Regions from separate parts of the Homo sapiens genome. Here region 2 is linked to region 1. The links are contacts of gene promoters, found by promoter capture Hi-C in blood cells and fetal thymus (Javierre and others, 2016). All regions are on one chromosome and are shown on one strand. Each heading gives the region's core, a stretch centred on a gene start or on the middle of the fragment in contact. The rest is flanking DNA. Distances are from core to core; before and after follow the strand shown.

Evidence for each region. Contacts are between HindIII fragments. The CHiCAGO score rates a contact against its expected background, and 5 or more counts as called.
Region 2: a contact is called between the fragment with the promoter of ATG5 here and the fragment with the promoter of HACE1 in region 1, in 4 of 17 cell types (naive CD4 T cells, monocytes, non-activated CD4 T cells and 1 more). The highest score is 7.4, in naive CD4 T cells.

Annotation. Positions count from the first base shown.
Region 1 is chr6:104,857,917-104,865,008 of GRCh38, forward strand. HACE1 (HECT domain and ankyrin repeat containing E3 ubiquitin protein ligase 1) reads right to left here and starts at 2,003. Exons shown (of 24, transcript NM_020771.4): 1 at 1,651-2,003. The coding sequence starts at 1,726. It also overlaps the pseudogene LOC100422315. RefSeq lists a silencer at 1,432-2,061 and enhancers at 1,684-2,183, 1,798-2,092. The HindIII fragment of the contact is 1,298 bases long and covers 836-2,133 here.
Region 2 is chr6:106,324,476-106,331,630 of GRCh38, forward strand. ATG5 (autophagy related 5) reads right to left here and starts at 1,285. Exons shown (of 8, transcript NM_004849.4): 1 at 1,051-1,285. RefSeq lists enhancers at 1,095-1,144, 1,165-1,484. The HindIII fragment of the contact is 6,577 bases long and covers 1-2,666 here.

The DNA.
Region 1 (7,092 bases), core at 753-3,252:
ACTGCACTCCAGCCTGGGCGACAGAGTGAGACTCCGTCTCAAAAAAAAAAAAAAAAAAGGATGTTTTCTAAACACAAAATAAAAGACTATATGCAACATGATTTTAACTTGTTAGGGAGGGAAAAAGAAATAACAATGGTAACACTGTTTATAACTGGATGGTGAAATGACATATTTTTTTCTATTTTTCTTTATTTTCCAAATTTTCTACAATGAAACTATATTACTTTTAAAACCAAGTAACATTATCAAAGTCTTCTAAATCACATTTATGTAAAAAATATCGGGATTCAAACTAGACAATATAAATTATACATGTAGTCTTCATAAAGCTATACCAATAATTCGACTACGAAAAATAAGTAAGAGTAGCACTTAAGAAATGGATTCAAAGGTGGAAGTTGGAAAGAAAATATAGAAAAAGTTGAAGCTAGAATCTAGTTACCAAAATCTGAATTCTAAATAGAGACTAGAGACCATTTTTTCAAGAAGATTATCCCCAGGCCAGGCGCGGTGGCTCACATCTGTAATCCCAACACTTTGGGGGGAGCAGGGTGCGGATCACTTGAGCCCAGGAGTTCAAGACCAGCCTGGGGAACATAGTGAGACCTCATCTCTATAAAAGAAAGGAAAGAAAATTATCGCCAAAGTACCCAATCCCACATTTCTTTCATGACCGTCTGCCAAGGTCTCCTTCCCTATCCTACAAACCACCCAGCAGCAATTCAAAGAGAGTTTTGAAAAAGTAAGATAAACTACTACAATTAAGAAAAAAGCTATTCACCAGCTACAACCTCCTCCCAACCCTTCTCTCACTTGGGCATAAAGAGCCAAAAGCTTCTTAGAAGCAGCACTGCTGTCTCCCATCACCACTAAAATGTCTGAATTCCTGACGCTGCAAACAAAACTGCTTATTTTCTCTCCTTGTTATTAGCAGAGTTTTACCTGTCCTGAGGGAACCCTGGCACGCTGAACTAAAAGTCCTGATCCTCAGGGACCATGCCTTATTCCTCTTTGCAGATGCGTCCTAGTTACCAGCTAGCCCACTCAATACTAGTCTGATGAATAAATGAAGAATGAAGGCAGGCATGCATATTAAAGAAAAATATATTGTGTTTACCCATACAGTACTTTAAGAGTACCTGTTTGATGTTTGACAACCCTTTGTTTGCCTGTTATCAAAACAAGGCAGTGCCCCACATTTTAAAAAATAACAAAAATAAAAGCCCGCCTGGCCCCCCGATGCAGCTTAAAGTAAACAGTATCTTTGGATCATCTCTATCCCCAGCTACTGTTAAATGACCCGCAATTATGATGTTTTCTGACTCCGGGTCTCGGGCCTCCGGCTGGTATTCCTGCCCCTTTGCCAAGACCCCTAATCGACAGACGTTGCGAGACCTTTGTCTCGCTCCTCCCAGCAGCGGAACCCCCACCAACCCAGTTTCCTCCCGAAAACTCCCACCTGCCGGGGTGGGAGCGTCGGGCCAGGGGAGTTCGGGGCCCGGGGCCGCCTCTCAGCTCTGGAAAGTAAAAGTGGGCGTTTTCTCAGCTTTCAGTTAGTTTTTCCACCCGACCTTGACGCGGCCGGAGCTCCTGCCCCACTGGCCGCCCCCAGCCCCGCGGCCAGCCTGGCCCCGCGACCCGGCTCACCCTCGGGCAACTCCACGGTGCGCGCGCGGCGCAGCGAGCGCGTCAGGCGGTTGAGTTGCTCCATCGCTCTCTCCATCCTCGGCGCGCCCTCCGCGATCCTCCGCGATCAGCCGCCCCACCGGCGGCCTCCGCGCCCAGAGCCCTACATCTCGCCTGGGCCCGTCCAGCAGGCGGAGACGCGGGCTTGCCCCGGCTAGAGCACTGAGCTGCGAGGGCTGCCTGGGGCCACGTCCTGCGTCCGGGGGCCGGGCTGCTGCCGGACCGACCACCTACAGTACACCCGCCGCCGCCTCTGCTCGCGCCTTTCCTGCAGCCCCCGCCGCCGCGTCCCTCCCGGGCTCGCGTGGCCTTCTGGGAACTGTAGTTTCCAGCTGGCAGAACGGAGCGCCCTGGGCGGAGTCACGTTGGGGGCGCCCAGGCCACGCCAACGCGGGCGCAGGGCTGAGTATGCGGGAAGCCACGCAGCGACTGGGCGTACTCCTAAGCTTCTGGAAAGGCATTCTCACGCCCTGCTCCTCCTACCCTCCTCCAAAGTTGTACAGGAGCAGTTTCCTCCAATTCTATAACTTTACTATAAAACAGATTAGAAATTGGCACAATTGTTCTTAAATCCGTCACCACCTTTCTAGTACTGTATTAGTGCCTTTGTTTCAGGTACCCTACATGAACTGTTTTAAGTATGGTATTTTCATATGTCAAACTTAAAGAGTAATAAAATCAAACAAATCCAAAAGCATATTGTGCTTTTGTCTTCATTGTAAATAACTTGACAATAGCTTAATTAGTTGTTTTTCCTGCCGGGCGGCTTTATGAGGGCAGGGACATTTAATCTTGAACTGTGTTGTATCCCTGTACTTAACAAGGCACCTAGCACAAAGTTAAAGCTCTGGGGAAGATATGAATGATGACAACCTGAAAAAATTTTTTCATTTATTTGGTACAATGCTAAAGTGTCTATGTGATGACACAGCCTAGTGGGAAATCCAAAGGATTTGACTTTGTAAGTTACAAAAAATTTGGATACCTACATTGTGGAAGAAATGAACTCAGTGGCGAAAAATCATATTCATAAGCTCTGCACAGAAGTTGAACACTTGAAACAACAGAAGTTGGAACTTCAAAAAATTAACCCAATCAAAGGGGTAAATGTGAGCCTGGCTAACACCAATATATCTTGGATATATTACCAGTGCCAAGATGATGCTGGAGTGAGGGAGAAACAAAAGGCTTGTCTTTTTCAGCTTCTCTTCCTCAAAGAGACAAAGCTGTTCCTGAAATGAATGGGCACATGTACGTTGATGATGTATGTTGGCTGGCCAAGTGAAAGAGAGTCTCACCTGCCCATTCAGGATATGAAGGGGCAGATGGTGGTTGGCATGTGTTTTCCCTGCCAGTGCCGTCCTAAATCAGTTCCAGCTAGTGACCATTTGTGCCAGTGGTGCCACAGGCACGGGGAAGACCTCTGTAATCTTCACCTAATCAGATGATACCTAAACCAGTCTGGCAACAAGGTGGTAGAGGTCAAAGTTTCAAAAGAATACCAGAGGCTGGGCGCAGTGGCTCATGCCTGTAATCCCAGCACTTTGTGAGGCCAAGGCAGGCGGATCACTTGAGGTCAGGAGTTTGAGACCAGCCTGGCCAACATGGTAAAACCCTGTCTCTACTAAAAATATGTATATACAAAAATTAGCCGGGCGTGGTGGTGTGCCTCTGAAATCCCAGCTACTCGGGAGGCTTAGGCAGGAGAATCGCTTGAACCCGAGAGACAGAGGCTGCAGTGAGCTGAGATCCTGCCATTGCACTCCAGCCTGGGTGACAGAGCGAGACCCTGTCTCAAAAAAAAAGGAAAGGAAGAAAGAAATACCAGACGTTATGGACCAGTCTAGCCCAGGCTCAACCATTTGCAACCTGGCTTCAACTAAAAATGTTCCAGTCTTGCTTGGCCTCTTATGCTATTCAAAAAGTCAGGATTCCCACTGCTGTACAGAAGTTGGCCCCTCAGCTTCTCTCAGCTGCTGTTATCACCATTGCTCTCTAGGCTGTTGCTCCATATAAATTACCTCCAACGTCCTGTGAGGACCAAGCCTGGAGTTTGTGGGCAGGGGTAGGAGCCCCCAGCAGCCTCCATGGTGGGCATTGCATCTCATGCTGGTCACTGTTCACCACAGGAGCAGAAGATAATGGAACAGGTAATGCTGATGTGAATTGTCAGTTCCAAATTCTGCAATATGATGCCGTCTCCCAATAGCTCTGCTTCAAAATGTATAAAGCTGCAGTACTACTATCAGCTTATCACCTCCTGTCCAACAGAACTTTCTGCAATGATAGAAATATTCTATAATCTGCAATGTCCAAAATAGCATCCACTAACCAAATGGGGTTACTGGGTGCTTGAAATGTGGCTGGTGCAACTGAATTTTAAATTTGTATTAAAGTATAAGTAATGAAACTAATTAAGTTAAATAGCTGTATGTGCCTTGTGGTTACCGTATTAGACAGGGCAACTTATCACACCAAGAAGAAAGCTGCCCAGGAGAACACCAAAACAGCTAAACAGCTTCTTATAGATTATTATTAGCTAAAGAGTAGATTTTCTCACCTGTCACCAACACCAAAAACATCAAGTGGAAGTTTCAAAAGGGCACTTTGTATCATAAGTTCCATTAACAAAAGCGTAGAGTTTTTCACTAATGATAACCCAGGTTCTTCTGTGGCCCAGACAGTTTCAACTTTCTTTTTTGTATATCTGGTATTTTTTTCTTCCTGGAAATTGGTTTTATTGAAGATTCCCAAGCATTAAGGGAAAGAGAAGAGAAAAACAATCTGTTCAACAAAAGGCAGGAAATGGGTGGGAAGCAAAGAAAAATGGTCATAAAAACAAAACATAAAGTAGCAGTAGAAATAAATCTAAATATATCCATGGTCACAGAAAATATAAACAGAGTAAACTCAATGTTTACTCTAAAACATAGAGGTCTTAGATAGTGTGTTAAAGAAAAATAAAAATGGAGGCCACAGTTTAGATATACCCAAGTCCAACTGTGTATAACCACAAACCAAAACTCATCATCCTCATTTCCCCAAAACACCATCTGTAATAATAAACACAAAACGCAAGGTTTATATCCTTGTCAGCATGATTCAGTGAAACTAAGCCAATCAGCTATAGACAAATCAGCTTAAATAGTTTCCCTAAAAAAATTAATGTATAACAGACAATCATGAAAAAAGGCCAAAGTACTTCATCTTTACGCTTTATAAACTGTACGGGAAATGCAGTAAGGCAAGCTTCTCAACACTGACTCAAAATATCCTGGATCGCAATTTGTACTTGATCTGATTTATTTCTTACATCTGAAAAGATCAAATAAAACAGCTATTTGCTGTTTCTAAGGGACCACCATTTCCAAAAGGAAATGGAAAAAAGGGATACCATAGAAAATATTAGCCAAATAAATGTGATATAAAAATATATCAGGGTTCTCTAGAGAAACAGAACCAGTAGAATGTGTGTATATATATGGAGAGAGAAAGAGATTTATTATCAGAAATTGACTCACGTGATTATGGAAGCTAGCAAATCCAAAATCTACAGTTTGGACCAGCGGTCTCAATACCCAAGAGACCTGATGATGCCATTCCAGTCAAAGGCCAGGGCAGCTAGTAAGACAGATGAAGTCTGGAGGCAGTCTGCTGAAAAATTCCCTCTTGCTGTTTCTTCTATTCAGGCCTTCAGCTGATTGGATGAAGCCCACCCATATTATGGAGAGCAATCTGCTTTAACCAATTTAAATGTTCATCTCTTCCAAAAACACCCTCCAAGTTGGCACAGAAAATTAACTATCATGAACAATATTAATATCAGCAAAATAAATTTTAAAGGAAAAAACATTATTAGAGTCAAAGAGAGTTACCAGAAAGTTTATACTAGTCCTGAACCTACACCTAAAGACATAGACTAAAAATAAAGCTACACTTGACAGAATTACAAGTATAAGTTCCACACCATGGTGCTAGATTTTTCACACCCTTCGCTCTGAAACGAATAAAGCTAGCAGAAAAAGACAGTTAAAGATACAGAAGATTAAAAAACTTCAACTACAAGTCTCATTAAAGGGCACGTGTGAACATTCACTTCACTACTAATGAAGAGGGAATACACATCCTTTTAAAGCACATATATTACAGTTACAAAAATACAACGCATCCGAGTGCCCTTCTTCAGAGCAGTGTCACTGAGGTGGCAACTAGGAAGACCATGGCCAAAGCCAGGGTAGGGTAGGTTGAAAATCCCAAGAAATGGAGTGGACAGAGGAAGCTATCAAAGGAAAAACAAAGCAGACTGTAGGTCTGGAAGTAGAGGCAGGAAATGCAGGGGACACATAAGCCAGTAGAAGGGACTTTGGAGTTAGCAATGAGAGGCAGCCACGGGTCTCACTAAACTACACTTTCATCCAGTACCCATGCTACAGAATTTCTTAATCAAAGTGAAGGATCCTACATTTGTCCTGCTGGATTTCATCTTGATTAGTTTTTGTTGTTGTTGTTGTTATTGTTGTCGTTTTGAGATAGGGTCTTGCTCTGTTGCCCAGGCTGGAGTGCAGTGGTATGATCTCCACTCACTGCAACCCCTACTGCAACCTCCGCCTCCTGGGTTCAAGCAATTCTTGTGCCTCAGCCTCCGAGTAGCTGGGACTACAGGTTAGCGCCAGCATACCCGGCTATTTTTTGTATTTTTAGTAGAGGCGGGGTTTCACCATGTTGGCCAGGCTGGTCTCAAACTCCTGGCCTCTGGTGATCCACCCACCTCAGCCTCCCAAAGTGCTGGGATTACAGGCATGAGCCACCGCACCCAGCCTGAGGTCATTAGTATAACCTGAAAAGATATTGCTGGGTCCTGCATCTATTAATCAGTTGTCTGGTATCTTCTGTGCTGTGTATCATGTGCAGACTTGACAAGCTCCCTCTCTATATAGGGATTGAAGTCACAGATTAAAATGCTGAAACAAAAGAAAGCAAAAAAAAAAAAAAAAAACCTCATTGAAATTACAACCTAAAACTTTCCCAAATTATCTTTGATTCATTAATGGGTTCTTTAGGGGAGAATATGTCATCGCCTATTAACACATCTAACTGTCTGTGTACTGAAAGCCATTAGAAATGTTGTGTACAGGCTGATTGCGGTGACTCACACCTGTAATCCCAACACTTCGGGAGGCCAAGGCGGGTGGATCGCAAAGTCAGGAGATGGAGACCAGCCTGACCAACATGGTGAAACCCTGTCTCTACCAAAAATTAGCCAGGTGTGGTGGCACGTGCCTGTAAACCCAGCTACTCAGGAGCCTGGGGCAGGAGAATTGCTTGAACCCGGAAGGCAGAGGTTGCAGTGAGCTGAGATCGTGCCCCTGCACTCCAGCCTGGGCAAAGACCCAGACACTCCCT
Region 2 (7,155 bases), core at 35-2,534, 1.5 Mb after region 1:
ATCAATGTCTTCTCACCCCATCCCCAAAGTGGAACTTCATGATGGCAGGGATTTTTATTCTTTTGTTTACTATTTTGTTTACTGTTTTGTCCAGTGCCTAACACATAGGAGGTACTCAGTTTGGGGGAAATTAATGAAATAAATACACACTTGAGGTGTGTGCACTATTCTAAAAATCCATATCCATACAGTTCCATTCTGTACACTTTCCCCCAATTTTAAGTAGCATATCTTTGAAGATAAAAGCACAGGCTTAAATCTGGTGTAAAATACCTCTCAATTACTACCCTGAGCACAACATCGTTATTTTCAAATTCAAAATTCAACCAGAAACTCCCTCTATGGAAATCACAAATAGTTCAGTTCAGAGCCAAGTATCCAGTTTCAAGGTCTCAGAAATTTAACAAGCCAATTCTGGAAGGCTTTGGAAGTTCAGCTACTGTCTGGTAAGTCTCCGGGTTCTGATTGCTCAAGACAGGCTGTACCTCCTCACCCCTCAGAAAAATCTAGAACCAATAGTTTCCTAGGTTCCTCAAGTTCAGGATAATTTTAAAATAATCCAAAGTACAAATGAAGTATGTAAAAGTGTCTTGCCAACAGAAAATGTCTTTGGTAGCACTAAATATTGTTATTGAGACAGGGAATATCGTAAATAGATAAATTGCTTGGAGGACATACCCACCGAGTTTGGACAGACTCACACTGCACTGTGCAATAAAGGTTTAAATAACTGTGTTCCACAAACAATTCAGGTCCTGAACTGAACTCTAGAGCCTGCGACTAGACTCTCGCTTTCCTACCTTAGTAAGCAACAGACATGTACCCCAAGAGGGACCCCGCAGGCCACACCCGCCAACCGGCCCCAGGGCTCCGGGCCGGCGTCTCGCCAACTCCACCTTGCCCGGAGGAACCACCTTCACCCGCCATCGCGGCCGGGCGGGCGCTCCTCCAGGCAACTACTCACCCCTCCTTCCTACCACACCTACCTGGCCCCTCCCCAGCCCTCCTCCTCTAGGAATTTCCTCACACAAGGTGGACACACACACGTACCCTACTCCAAGCTATGGCTCCTCCTTCCGGCTCCCCGCACTGGTGGGGACGCCCAGATTCCGCGCTCCGGTGGGGCGGCGGGGCAAGCTGCCCGCCTGACACACTGTCCTGCGGGGACGCGGTAGCAGGACTCCAGGAAGCCCGCGCAGCCGCAAAAAGCACCGGCGCGGAGGTCGGAGCTGAACCCTGCTGCACTTCCGCCCTCTGGTATCCAGCGAATACAACCGGCAACGCTGCGGAGCCCTGGCAGCGCACCACAAGTCCAGTCACCCTCGGCGCCCGGAGATGACGTCACGAGACCCCACGTGGTCCGAACTCCGCCCTCCGTGTTCTGCCTAACCCAGCAAGGAGGCCCGAGTCGCTCTTGAGCATGCGCCAACGGGGCAGTACGCTTGAACTCGCGACCAAACCTCTCCAAGTTCATAGCTTCTACCCTCTTCTGAGAATCTTGCGTCAAAGCGTAGTTATTGGGGCTTGGGGAGGTTAACTTAACAGTTCCACAAAAACAGTTTTTAAAATACTGAAACACTGCCTCCCTAGAGCTTGATCGCAACATCCCTTTCTTCCTGGCATCACACAACAGTATTAATAAAACATTAGTTTTCAAAGTACTTTCCCATCCATTTTCTTATTTGATCTTCTTCTCTACTTTGTTGGAACCACCGCAGGCATTAATAACCTAATTTAACAGAAGACTATATGAGCACTGAACCCTCCCACCCATCCAAGAGTACATATCTTTATCTTACTCTTTGTAAAAATAATTGGGGCCGGGCGCGGTGGCTCACGCCTGTAATCCCAGCACCTTGGGAGGCCGAGGCGGGCGGATCACGAGGTCAGGAGATCGAGACCATCATGGCTAACACGGTGAAACCCCGTCTCTACTAAAAATACAAAAAAAATTAGCCGGGCGCGGTGGCGGGCTTCTGTAGTCCCAGCTACTGGAGAGTCTGAGGCAGGAGAATGGCGTGAACCCGGGAGGTGGAGCTTGCAGTGAGCCAAGATAGGGCCACCGCAGTCCCGCCTGGGCGAAAGAGCGAGACTCCGTCTCAAAAAAAAAATAGTAATAATTGGTAAACTTACTAATAAAGAATCTTTGAATTGGCTCTATCCAGAAGTCTTAGCAGGCATTTAAGGTTTTTCTCTTAATTACACGTGCCTTAACGCCATGCATGTTAAGTAAGTACTGTGCTGAGACTCAAAACAGGTTCTTGATAATTGGGAACATAAGGAAAATTCTAGTAGTAGCCACAGGATTCTTTTAAAAAGAAAAATCTTCTTGGAGTTGGACTAAGTACAATGATTTTCAAATGGTAAATTACAGTACATTAGTGGGTATCTAAATCAAGTTAGGGAAGCATGCCCAGCATCTTTTTAAATGAAATAAAATAGAAAATATCAGCATGCTTCACACATGTAAAGGGTAAATATTGTGTCCCAAAATTTTTACTTCAGTATGTATGTGGTGTACACTGGATAGGAATGTGAAATACATTTCTTAGTAAGGGTAGCAGTCAGAAAAGTTTGAAAGCCACAGTTATGGTCCTCTTCACCTACTCAATGCAGAAATCCTCACTACAGTGTCCCCAGTAAACAGCTATTAGCCTCTGTAAGAAAGCTTGTGGGATTAAGGTGCATTGCCTTCCCAGTGTCAGACAAAAGTATATAAAATTTCCTTTAAAATGTATCTAAAAAATAAGATGGATTTAGGGGCGCATAGATGGATAAATATGTGATTAACCAAATATAGTAAAATATAATGGTAGAATATAATGGTAAAATATAATGGTAGAATCTAGATGGTAGAATCTAGGTTCATTGTAAATGGGTATTCACTGTAAAATTTGTTCAGCTTTGCTGTGTGTTCAAAATTATTTCCTAACAAAATGTTGGGACCAGGCACAGTGGCTCATGCCTGTAATCCCAGCACTTTGGGAGGCCCAGGTAAGAGGATAGCTTGAGCCCAGGAGTTCAAGACCAGCCTGCACAACATGGCAAGACCACATCTCTACAAAAAACACAAAAATTAGGAGGGCATGGTGGCATGCGCCTACAGTCCCAGCTACTCCAGTGGTTGAGGAAGGAGGATTACATGAGCCCAGGAGGTCAAGGTTGCAGTGAGCTATGATTGTATCACTGCAGTCTAGGTAACAGAGAGAGACCCTGTCTCAAAAAAAAAAAAAAATTGTTTTGGGGGAAACTATGTATGAAGAAACCCAATAGGTGAAAGGTGATTACTTGATTTGACTTAAAATTCAACTTCCTGTAATTTTTATAAATTGACCATTTTCTTTCTTTCTCCCCTTGTCCTTCTCTCTTCCTCACCCATCTACAACATACAACAGAAATAACTAACTCTTCTTCTAAAAGACAGCATTTCAATATGAAAAGGTAGCTCTTGTGCCCCGTAATGCACTCAGGGATAAACATTGTCATTTCTTTCAGCCATTCTTCACATGCCATATCTCTCCTCTGGATATGGTCCAGTTATCAGCATTCCTATTAAATAGTTGTTACACTTGTTTCTATATGATGATCATGCTCCTTGAGCAAAAATTTGGAAATAAAGGGAATTGTATGTTTCGTCTCTGTCATTTCCATTTGTGAACATTATGCCTTTTCTCCAAATCAGTGGCACTGCAAATTTTTAATTTTTTTTCTATGAAGATAACTTTTAAAGAGCTCTTTTTGTTGGCCTTACCATTTCCTCCAAGTTTTAGCTTATTGGGGGTGACTCTCTGTTGGGAACAAGACCCCCAAAATCTGGCCATAAACTGGCCCCAAAACTGGCCATCAACTAAATCTCTGCAGCACTGTGACGTGTTCACGATGGCCATAAAGCCCACGCTGGAAGGTTGTGGGCTTACCGGAATGAGGGCAAGGAACACCTGGCCCGCCCAGGGCGGAAAACTGCTTAAAGGCATTCTTAAGCCACAAACAATAGCATGAGAGATTTGTGCCTTAAGGACATGCTCCTGATGCAGTTAACTAGCCCAACCTATTCCTTTAATTCGGCCCATCCCTTCATTTCCCGTAAGGGATACTTTTAGTTAATTTAATAGCTATAGAAACAATGCTAATGACTGGCTTGCTGTTAATAAATACGTGGGTAAATCTCTGTTCGGGGCTCTCAGCTCATTTCTGTGTGTGTGTCTTTAATTCCTCTAGCGCCGCTGGGTTAGGGTCTGCCCGACCGAGCTGGTCTCGGCACTCTCAGGCAGCCTTTGACTCGTGCGAACTTGTTTATAAAGTCCTCTTTTCAACAAAAGTCAAGTACACAACTCCTCCCAAATTCTGGTTTCTAAGGAGAGACTCCAAAGAAGTCTTTGTTAATAAATTGCTCTCTTTTCTTTTCACTATAATAGTTTGTAGTTGTAAAGTCTGGCTTTTATTTTTGCACACCTCACAAAGTGCAAGACTCAAAACTGTGGGATCGTAACTTTATTCTAAACTTATTTAAATCTACTTTCCTAAAATGTAAGTTATCTTGACTGCCTCCATGAACCCTAACCATCACTTGTTATCATGCTATTACTTCCTGACCCAAGGTCCCATTCTGCTCTCTTTTATCTCTGTCCTGTTGGTTTCAGAGGAATGATTTAAGCCTAATTTAATTCTTCTATTAATACTTCAGCTCTAACACTTCTGACTGCTCCAACTAATTATCCCATCTCCCAGATTTCCCTTACTACTAGTTTCTTCCTTCATCCTATACATATGCTCAAATGTTCTCCCATCCTATTAAAATGCTTCCTTTAACCTTCATCACTTCTGAACTATTAGGATAGCTTCCCCCCATCTCCCTGCCTCCAGTCCTGCTCTACCTGTCCCAGCATCCAACCAGTGTATGTTATCTAAAATGCATTCTAACAATGTCACTCTTCTGTTTAACACCTTTTATTGATTCCTTCTAGGCAAATTCCAAATTTCTTAGCATGGTAAACAAGGTCTTTTATGGCTAATTTCTTCTTTCCTTCTAGCTTCCTTCCCCTGCTCTCCCTGCCTTGCGCTTCAAAAAATCCAACAGTATCCAATATTTTGTAAGACTTCTGAGCCCTAAGGCTATGCCATGCTTCTATGACTTTGTTGCTGTTGTCCCTGCTGCCCGGAACACTACCCCCACCAGCACCATCACCACATTCTTTCTTCTTCACTTGGCACACATCACTCATTTTTAAGACTCAATTCATGTTTTGGAAAGTATTTCCTGACCCACCCAATTTGGATTTGTTGGTCCTCATACTTTCCTCGGTAATTTTTTGATCACCAATGCCCAGCATAATGCCTGGCATTTATTAAATGTTTGTCAAAGTAACCTAAGCTGAACATGCGCTCTCTTCTAGGATTCCCATCAGTTTCACCTCATAATCTAAATTGTTCCATATAGCTTAGAGTTTAGGTAGAAAGTGGTCGTTTTCTTTGTTACTTCATCGATGTCTGAGGGAGAAAATCAGCAAGTCACGTTGAAAGTAATTGAGATGCACTGCCATTAGCAGAGTGGGTCTCCAGCAGTCACTAGCAGTTAAAGTTTTCCGCCATCACCGTATCCTGTCTCAGTGTCAGTTTTAGGATCTGTACGGGGAAAGGCATCACTTCTTCCATTTGGCTGCACACTCTGCAGTGCATTCCCAGAACACAACCACACTTCTGTTCCTCTATCCGTTTATCCTTACTCAAATGATACCTCTCCCCTGCTAGAATGGAGACTCCTACAAAGCTGGCATGAATTCCTATACAAAAAGGCTACAAACTGGAGTTCCACCTGCTGGAACTGGAGAACCTGTATGATTGCTGTAACATACATTAACCTACTTCAGCATACAAAATGTAATATTATGAATGTGGTAGTAGTACATAAGCTTCGATTCTACTCACACAAACTGAGAATTCTAGGCTTCCATGATGGTCAGGCAGCAACACATTAAAAAGACCACACTTCAGGAGCACATATCACAAGGACGCCTAGTATCACCATCTTGATCCACATCGCTTGGTTTGCTAATTAGCATAGTGAACACCAGAGATGGGTTTTTATTTTTGGCTTCCCCAAAAGTATGATAAATGTTAAAAATGGGATCTCATGTATGCAATTAGCAAAATCTAAAATATATGGGATTTGGGCTGGGCACGGTGGTTCATGTCTGTAATCCCAGCATCTTGGGAAGCCAAGGTGGGCAGATCACTTGAGGTTAGGAGTTTCAGACCAGCCTGGTCAGCATGGTGAAACCCCGTCTGTACTAAAAATACAAAAAAATTAGCGGGGTGTGGTGGTACACGCCTATAGTCCCAGCTACTTGGGAGACTGAAGCACGAGAATCACTTGAACCTGGGAGGTGGAGGTTGCAGTGAGCCGAGATCGTGCCACTGCACTCCAACCTGGGCAACAGAGTGAGACTCCGTCTCAAAAATAAATAAATAAATAAATTTAAATACACTTCAGCTGCTTCCGAAGTGTGGTCTTTCTAATGTGTTGCTGCCTGACCACCACTGAAGCATAACAGAGGCATAGCTCGTTATATAGTGCTTCACCTTATTGCTCTTCGCAGAGTCTGTTTTTTACAAATTGAAGGTTTATGGCAACCCTGCATCAGGCAAGTCTTTTGGCGCCATTTTTCCAACAGCATGTGCTTACTTCATGTCTCTGTCACATTTTGGCAATTCTCCCAATATTTCAAACATTTTCATTATTATTATATCTGTTATGGTGATCTGTGATCAGTGGTCTTTGATGTTACTACAGTAATTGTTTTGGGGCAGTATGAACCACATCCATATAAGATGGTGAACTTAACTGATAAACACGTGTGTTCTGACTGCTCAGCCCACTGGCCCTTCCCCGTCTCTTTCCCTCTCCTCTAGCCTCCCTATTCCCTGAGACACTACAATATTGAAATTAGGCCAATTAATAACCCTATAATGGCCTCTAAGTGTTCAGGTAAAAAGAAAAAAATGCACGTCTCTCACTTTAAGTCAAAAGCTAGTAATGACTAAACTTAGTGAGGAAAGCAAATCAAAAGCCAGGACAGGCCGAAAGCAGGTCTCTTGGACTAAACAGCCAAGTTATGAATGTGAAAGAAAAGCTCTTGATGGAAATTAAAAGTGCTA